Linked DNA regions of Homo sapiens: all the other regions are linked to region 2. The links are contacts of gene promoters, found by promoter capture Hi-C in blood cells and fetal thymus (Javierre and others, 2016). All regions are on one chromosome and are shown on one strand. The core of a region is centred on a gene start or on the middle of the fragment in contact, and the rest is flanking DNA. Distances in the headings are between cores, read along the strand shown.

Region 1 (3,104 bases), core at 59-2,558, 96 kb after region 2:
TTTCTTTCCTTCCTTCCTTCCTTCCTTCCTTCCTTCCTTCCTTCCTTCCTTCCTTCCTTCCTTCCTCCTTTCTTTTTTTATTTTTCTGGAGTCTTGCTCTGTCACCCAGACTGGAGTGCAGTGGCACAATCATGGCGCAATCTAGGCTCACTGCAGCCTTCATCTCCCACATTCAAGCGATCCTCCTGCTTCAGCCTCCCGAGTAGCTAGGACTACAGGCATGCACCACCATACATAGCTAATTTTTAAAATTTTATTAATTTTTTTTTATTTTTAGTAGAGACAGGGTTTGGCCATGTTGGCCAGGCTGGTCTCAAACTCCTGACCTTGGGTGATCTGCCCGCCTTGGCCTCCCAAAGTGCTGGGATTACAGGTGTAAGCCACTGTGTCCGGCCTTTTTTTTTTTTTTTTTTTTGAGACCGGGTACTGCTTTGTCACCCAGGCTGGAGTGCAGTGGCTCAATCATATAGCTCATTGCAGTCTCGAACTCCCAGGCATAAGCAATTCTCCCTAATAACTAGGACTACAGACATGTGCCACTATGCCCAGCTAATTTTTTAATATATATCTAGACATGGTGGTCTCGCTACATTACCCAGGCAAGTCTTGGTCTCTCCTCTTGGCCTCCCAAAGTACTGGGGTTACAGGCATGAGCCACTGCACCCCACCAGAGTAGCTTTCCTTCCTAAGAGACACCTACTGCGATAGTTCTGAAACTTGTTTGTCTAAGAATCATAATGGGGTAATTTTCACAGGTGTTGGGCAGGACCCAGGAATATGCATTTTTAATCAGTGTTCAGGCAATTCCACTGAGGAAGTTCTGAAGGTCACTCTCAGAGCTTCTCAAACTTGAGTGAGTATTCCCGGAGATTTTGTGAAAATGCAGGTTTTGATTCAGTGGGTCTGGGGTGCAGCTGAAGGTTCCGCATTTCTAGCAAACTCTGAGAGTCTACTAACACTGCTGGCCCAAGAGCCCCTGCCCGGAGTCGCAGGGCTCTGTCGTCTCAAGCCCCTTCTGGTTGTCTATCTTGATTCCAGTGCTTTCTAACAACATGTGCTTTGCTGTCATAAGCTTCCGGATTTATCAAAACTACAAGTTGATCTAGGAAAGCTACGACAGTAATTTTGTATACCCATTTCCCTGCTAAAAAAATAAATAAAATGTTGTGTGATTGCTAGAGCTTAGATAAAATTGTGGAAGACAACCAAACATAACTAAATCTTGCCAGTCAGCTAAGAAGTGGGCTATTTTTGAAAGCCATATAAAATTCAATAGAAAGTCTGCTGGGAACAGGTGTTTTCCGGTCTTGGGAGACAAAACTGCTCATTCAGGCTCCAGCTGCATGCATTTTTCCTTCTTGAATTTGTTTTACTCTTGGGAAAAAAGACTTTTAAATTCAGTGACAGCAGAGCTCTAGAGCTCATTTAGACAGAACTTAAAATGTTCTCCTGTGCCTTATCTGCTGAACTGTGTGTATCCCAAAGCCACTAGCAGAACATCTTCAGTGTGTCTGTGAGGAGATGACAGGAAAGGTGGAAGCTTGACCGAGGCTGGCCATACAGAACCAGGGTTCCAGAGAGGCCATAAAATGTCCTTTAGACTCTTTTTTTTTTTTTGAGCTTTTTACAAGCTTTTTTCCTTTTTTTTAATTTTTAAAATTGTGGTAAGATATAGATAACATAAAATGTACCATTTTAATCATCTTTCAATGTACAGTTCAATGGCATTCAATACATTCATATTGCTATGTAACCATCACCACTATCCACCTTCAGAATTTTTTGTCATCTTAAACGGAAACTGTAAGTAAACAGTAACTTCCCAGTCCCCTCTCCCCCTAGCCCCTGGTAACCACTGTTCTACTTTCTGTCTCTGTGAATTTGACTACTCTAGGTCCCTTGCATGCCTTAGTCAGCTTGAGCTGCCACAGCAAAATATCATAAACTGGGTAACTTAACAGACAGGCTGAAGTTCTGGAGGCCAAAAGCCTGAGATCAAAGTGCCAGCATAGTCGGTTTTGGTGAGGGCTCTCTTTCTAGCTGTAGGCTGTGGCCTTCTCACTATGTTCTTAGGTGGCAGGGAGAAACAGACGTCTCTGTGTCTTTTTTTTTTTTTTTGGAAATGAAAGTGTGTTTTCTTTTCTTTTTTTTTTTCTTTTTTTGAAGATGGAGTCTCACTCTGTTGCCCAGGCTAGAGTGCAGTGGTGCAATCTCTGCTCACTGCAACCTCCGCCTCTCAGGTTCAAGAGATTCTTCTGCCTCAGCTTCTCGAGTAGCTGTGATTACAGGCACCCACCACTATGTCCAGCTAATTTTTCTATTTTTAGTAGAGGCGGGGTTTCACCATGTTGGCCAGACTGGTCTCGAACTCATGACCTCAAGCAATCTGCCTGACTCAGCCTCCCAAAGTGTTGGGATTACAGGCGTGAGCCACCATGCCCAGCCTCTGTGTCTCTTCTTATAAGGACATGAAGAATAACACACCAAAAAATCAAATACTGTATGATTCCTCTTACATGATGCTGTTGAATGAATTGAGTCTACTCAGAATTCATATGTTAAAGCCCCAACCCCCAGTGTGACTGTATTTGGAGAAAGGGCCTTTATGGAGATAATGAAGTTTGAACCAGCCACCACACCCAGTTAATGTTTTGTATTTTTAGTAGAGACTGGGTTACTCCATGTTGGGCAGGCTGGTCTCAAACTCCTGACCTCAGGCTTCCTGAGGTGATCCACCTGAAGGTCATCAGGGTGTGGCTCTGATCCAACTGTTTGTTACTTTGTATTGTTATTTGTTGTGGCTTATTTCACTTAGTATAATGTCTTCAGGGTTCATCTGTGTTACAGCATGTGTCAGAATTTTATCACTTTTTAAGGCTACCATTCCATCATATGTATATACCACATTTTGTTTATCTACTCATTTGTTGATGAATATTTGTGTTGCTTTCACGTTTTGACTACTCTGAAGAATGCTGCTGTGAATATTGGTGTACAAATGACTGTTCAGGACCAGGCATGGTGGCTCACACCTATAATCCCAGCACTTTGGGAGGCCAAGGCGGACAGATAGTGAGGTCAGGAGTTCGAGACCAACCTGACCA
Region 2 (2,755 bases), core at 176-2,675:
TTTTGGAGAACTGCAATCCGTCCTGTTTTCTCCCTACCCCGCGGGAGCTGGCTAAACCAGCCTGGAGGCTAGCAGTTTGCCTGTGTGCCCTAAGCTAGTGACAGCTCATATCAAGCCCAGTATTTAAGGAGCGTGATTACTTTTACTACGTAGTTCCCAGGGAGAAAAGCAACTCAAAACATTTTTGTATCTTTTTGTATCTTGTTGCACAAGATACAAAATTGTGCACTAAGATACAAATTGAAACTCGAATTGAAATTTGGCTGCCAATTTATTAAACCCACCCCAACAATCTTCCCTATTAACAACAACAACAACGAAGAGATCTCAGGATACCCATTTTCATGTGTAATATAAACCGATGCCACCCATCTATCATATCCATCTAAATCTAATAATTCAGCTTTTTGTTTGGCGGGAGTACGACAGGTCTTTATATGATTCAATGTTACAAAGTTTTTCAGAGGACAAATGATGAAAGTGTGAACCCACGGCTATGATGAAGCCGCAGTCTCTTTGAGTACAGAATCATGAGCTAGATATAAAGAACTGGCTTTAAATTCTGAAGTAGATCTTGCTTTTAAATGTTATAGTGGTGGGTAATAATTTCCTTTGCTTCAGTTACTATTTAAAAAGTAAATATGTGTAGATGAAAATGCAGGATTTAAAAAAATCTACTTTGTAGAATAGGATACCTATCATTTATATTAAGCCCAATGCGTGGGAAACGGATCAATGACTTGATGCGGTGCCTATAAAACATTATAATCCAAAGTTGCATTAGGACATAAAAATAACTGCTGATAAAAGTTTACTCAAAGTAGCATCTGCCCCTAATTCAGTTTGTATTTTTATCGTAAAGACCTAAGGCGCCGCGGGAACTAGGCTGTGCGTTCGCCCCCCGCGGCAGACGGCGGCGCGCGGCGCCTCTGGAGCGCCCCTCCGAAGCCCCGTGGGGGCGGCCGTGGCCCCGGGGCAGCCGCTGGCGAGCACCCCAGAGGTCCGAGCCCTCCGAGCCCCAGGTGCCCGGGGCCCGAGCCCCGCCTGCCACTCTCCCCAGCTGCCTTTCCAAACGGCGGCGTGCTGGTGGAGAGAGTTTTCCCGCACCTTGTTCGCCCGTCAGAAAGCGGCGCCGGGAGGGAGCGAGCGTGAGAAAGTGAGCGTGTGCGCTGCAGGAGAGCACGACCCAAGAGCCGGCGCCCGGTGTCCGAGCGCCCAGTCCGCCCTGTCCGCCCCCGGACCCGCGAAGGGCGGGGGCCCGGAGCAGCGAGGCGCGGGAAGCGAGGCCGGCGGGTGCCGGGGGTTGGCGGGACGCGCGCTTCGTGCCGGCGCCGGCCTCGAGCCCGCGCTCCCTCCCCCCGCCCGCGTGCCCGCGCCGCTGCGCGATGCAGTGTGGGGAATGGCTGGGGTTGGCTGAAGAGCGCACAGTGGAGTTTTAATGTCCGCCATGTTGGCCATGGCGTATTGAAGAGAGCGAGCGAGAGAGGAGCGGAGCGGCACAGCCTCCCACCCTCCCGGCTGGTGTTAGTGCCCGGACGGCGGGCTCTGCGCTCCGCCCCTCAAGTCCCCGGCAGCGGTTGGCGAGTGGGGACCGAACCCCCGGTTCTCCATGATCCCGCTGGCCGGGGCCGTTTCCCCAGAGCGGAGAGGTATCTGCTGCGCCTGAGATGAGTAAACTGTCGTTTCGGGCGCGGGCGCTAGACGCCTCGAAGCCGCTGCCGGTTTTCCGCTGTGAGGATCTGCCCGACCTGCACGAATACGCCTCGATAAACAGGGCCGTGCCGCAGATGCCCACCGGAATGGAGAAGGAAGAGGAGTCGGTACGTGTTAACTCCCCTGTCCGACCCACCGTCAGGCCCGCTCCCTCTGCTGCCTGCGGCGGCGGCGGAGCAGCAAACCCACACAAAATGGCCGCCATCTTCTCTTCGCCGCCGACTCTCAGTCGCCGGCCGGGCCTATACCCCGCCTCCCCCAGCCTCGACCCCCGGCCGCCGCGGCCCAGCGGGGCCCCTTCTAAGGCCACCCGCTGACCCTGGCCACTTGTACCCGGGTCCCGCGGAGTTCGGGGGCCCGAAAGGCACAAAGGGGTCACGTGACGAAGCTGCCGGCAGCCATTTTGTGTCTTAGTTCTTGGGTTGGGCCTTGTGCATCCGGAGAGGGGAACGGGCTGGGTGGCTGTGGGGGTGCGGCGAGTCGGGAGCCGTGGAGGACCCGCCTACAGGCCTCTCCGTGGGCCGCTGGGTGGCGCTCCAGGGCCACTGCGGCCTGCGCGCCGCTGCCCGGGCCGGGAGCGCAGGTTCTGTGCACAGTCGGGGAATTTGATTGCCCCATGGTCTGGGAAGCTTGTTGGGCTCAGTGCAGCCCCCACGTGGAGCCTCAGACGGGCATGTCATGTCGCCTGCTGCTCTATGAGGCTTTTCTCCCCCTCTGCAAGGAAATGTCGAGGGTGCAGCGTGTTTGCCCGGACGACTTACTTTTCTAGAAGATAAGACTTACTTTCAGTGTCCTCTTTCTGGGACGTTTGTATCCATCCCTCTCCAGAGCTAGTTGGTCGGAGGATAATAAACCACTATCCCTGACTTTTTCTGTGATCCTTGCGAATATCTTGCAGATTTGTTTGGAGTACCTCTCTCTTCTGAAGCCTGTAACCTTACCTATTTGTAAAATAAATTTAAGTTCTCCTGCTCTCTGGTATCTCAACATAGGGGGAGAAAAGACCCAATTTAAGTAACTTTTATAGATCTAAATTTCGAAG
Region 3 (2,818 bases), core at 308-2,807, 65 kb after region 2:
ATGTTCCGTAAACTAATTTACTTGGTGGTTAAAAAAAAGTACAGTTGACCCCTGAACAACATGAGGGTTAGGGGCACCCCCCAATTGCAGTCCAAAATTCATGTATAACTTTTGACTCCCCAAAAACTTGACTAATAGTCTGCTCCTGACCAGAATTACCAATAACATAAACAGTCCATTAGTCCATTAACATAAACAGTCCAAACATACATGTTTTGTATGTTATATGTATTCTGTACTTCATTCTTAAAATAAGCTAGGAAAAAGAACATGTTATTAAGAAATTTATAGAGCCAGGCATGGTGGCTCATGCCTGTAATCCCAGCACTTTGGGAGGCTAAAGTGGGCAGATTGCTTGAGCCCAGGAGTTCAGGACCAGCCTGGGCAACATGGTGAAACCTCATCTCTACAAAAAATGCAGAAATTCACTGGGTGTGGTGGTGAGCGCCTGTAGTCTCAGCTACTCAGGAGACTGAGGTGGTAGGAGCCCAGAAGGTCAAGGCTGCAGTGAGCCAAGATCATGCCACTGCATTCCAGGCTTCACAGCAAAGCAAAACCCTGTTTCAAAAAAAAAAGAAATTCATAAAGGAGAGAAAATACATTTACTAATCATTAAGTGTAAGTGGATCATCATAAAGGTCTTTATCCTTGTCATCTTCACATTGAGGGGGAGGAGGGGTTGGTCTTGTCATCTGAGAGGTGACAGAGGCAGAAGATAATTTACAAATAAGTAGACCCAGGCAGTTCAAACCCATGTTATTCAAGGGTCAGCTGTACTTCTATGAAATGGAAGTCTTTCAGCTCATGAGAAAAATAATCACAATTCAGAAATCAGCTGGAAGATAAAGCTATTTTAGGGACTAACAGCTTATTTATAATCCCATTAATGTTACTGTCTTTATCACCAAAAGCCAGTTTCTCTCTACTTTTATAGTCTTAAGAATCAAAATAAAGAACTTTTCAATAAAGACTTACTTATAGTGTTAGTATAGAGGTTTTAACAGTATAAACCTGTCATAGGTTACCCTGATAATTAAGCTTTCTAAGCTGTAAAAATTCTTTAAGACTTCTCAGAAAATAGGCATGTTCCATCAATCTCCATCTTCTCCACCCCTTAAATAGAGAAGTTGAAGTGTATAACTATCCTAAATATTTAAGGATTTTATAATGCTCTTTTTTTATGAAAAATGTTTTGCTATACTGCTTTAGGCATATTAATAACAGTTGTAAAAATTGTTTGATTTGTGTTTGCCCAAAGAACATTAAAAGATGAGCATTACCAAAAGCTTAGCTGAAAAGAAATCATTAGTAACCTTGTAATTTTTCTTCTTTATCATTTCTTTCCTCCATATATGCGATACAACTATTTATTTATTTATTTAAGACAGGATCTTTCTCTGTCACCCAGACTGGAGTATAGTGGCACAGTCATGGCTCACTGCAGCCTCAACTTCCCAGGCTCAGTGATCCCCCAACCTCAGCCTCCTGGGTAGCTAGGACTGCAGGCGTATGCCACCATGACTGGCTAATTTTTTGTAAGAGATAGGGTCTATGTTGCCCAGGCTAGTCTTGAACTCCTGGCCTCAAGTGATCCTCCTGCCTTGGCCTCCCAAAGTGCTAGGGTTACAGGGGTGAGCCACTGCACCCAGCCTCAATACTACTTTTTAAAAATGAGTTTATCTATTTTTTTTCCTGTTGTCTTAATTATTTTCAATTTCTCCTTAAATTTTGCTAGATCTTCTAATACTTAGAGGATAGATACCTACAGACTACTGTAGGGTAACACTGTTCATTTATATTTGTGAATATTCCAGAGACCTAAAGCTTTTCTCTGCATACTTTATAAAGTATATTACAATGCAGCCATATCATAAGTGCATTTCACTTAATCCAACTCCAGGCCCCTGAAGAAAAAAAAAACAAAATTTAGGCCAAGTGTGGTGGCTCATGCCTGTAATCCCAGTACTTTGGGAGGCCGAGGCGGGCAGATCACCTGAGGTCAGGAGTTCCACACTAGCCTGGCTAATATGGCGAAACCTGGTCTCTACTAAAAAATACAAAAATTAGCTGGGCATGATGGCAGGCGCCTGTAATCCCAGCTACTCAGGAAGCTGAGGCAGGGAGAATGGCTTGAACCTGGGAGTCAGAGGTTGCAGTGAGCCGAGATTGTGCCATTGCATTCCAGCCTGGGCGACAGAGTGAGACTCCATCTCAAAAAAAAAAAAGAGAAAATGTAGCAGCTCAAATGTTATACAGAATTCTAAATACAATTTACTGAAAGAATATATTCTCCAGAGTGAGCCTGGAGTAGGGGAAGTTGAATGTGTTGGTCCTCTTACGGCGTGAGTGCCCGCATTGCCACTTTATTCATAGGTTAAGCATCTTACCTCATTCAGTAGTAATTGTGATTTTAAAGATAATTTTTAATTTTCATACAGCATGGCCCCCACATACAAACCAGACTACTTCCTCTGGCACTTAACCAAAGAAACTCTGATGTAGTCTGATGCCAGCAGAAAAACTGGCAGTGTTGGGCTAATTAAAACAGAAGAGTCAGGCCAGGCACAGTGGGTCATGCCTGTAATCCCAGCACTTTGGGAGGCCGAGGCAGGCAGATTGCCTGAGATCACCTCAGATCAGGAGTTCAAGACCAGCCTGGCCAACATGGCAAAACACGTTTCTATTAAAAATACAAAAATTAGCCAGACGTGGTGGTGGGTGCCTGTAATTCCTGCTACTCGGGAGGCTGAGGCAGGAAAACCACTTGAACCCAGGAGGCAGACGTTGCAGTGAGCCAACATCACGCCACTGCACTCCA

What was found. Contacts are between HindIII fragments. The CHiCAGO score rates a contact against its expected background, and 5 or more counts as called.
Region 1: a fragment that was not itself captured here is called in contact with the fragment with the promoter of EPC1 in region 2 in 5 of 17 cell types (activated CD4 T cells, megakaryocytes, naive CD4 T cells and 2 more); the score reaches 8.2 in activated CD4 T cells.
Region 3: a contact is called between a fragment that was not itself captured here and the fragment with the promoter of EPC1 in region 2, in 3 of 17 cell types (total B cells, naive CD4 T cells and activated CD4 T cells). The highest score is 5.8, in total B cells.

Annotation. Positions count from the first base shown.
Region 1 is chr10:32,249,478-32,252,581 of GRCh38, reverse strand. No RefSeq gene overlaps it. Among named protein-coding and RNA genes, the nearest start is that of EPC1, 96 kb to the left of the region's middle. The HindIII fragment of the contact is 468 bases long and covers 1,075-1,542 here.
Region 2 is chr10:32,345,828-32,348,582 of GRCh38, reverse strand. It overlaps EPC1 (enhancer of polycomb 1), which reads left to right and starts at 1,425. Exons shown (of 14, transcript NM_001272004.3): 1 at 1,425-1,820. The coding sequence starts at 1,668. It overlaps EPC1-AS1 (EPC1 antisense RNA 1), which reads right to left and starts at 1,219. Exons shown (of 2, transcript NR_104163.1): 1 at 1,108-1,219. RefSeq lists silencers at 835-964, 975-1,444, 2,115-2,394 and enhancers at 1,715-1,774, 1,795-1,894. The HindIII fragment of the contact is 3,163 bases long and covers 1-2,344 here.
Region 3 is chr10:32,281,082-32,283,899 of GRCh38, reverse strand. The region is part of intron 10 of EPC1 (enhancer of polycomb 1); the gene reads left to right. Among named protein-coding and RNA genes, the nearest start is that of EPC1, 65 kb to the left of the region's middle. The HindIII fragment of the contact is 538 bases long and covers 1,289-1,826 here.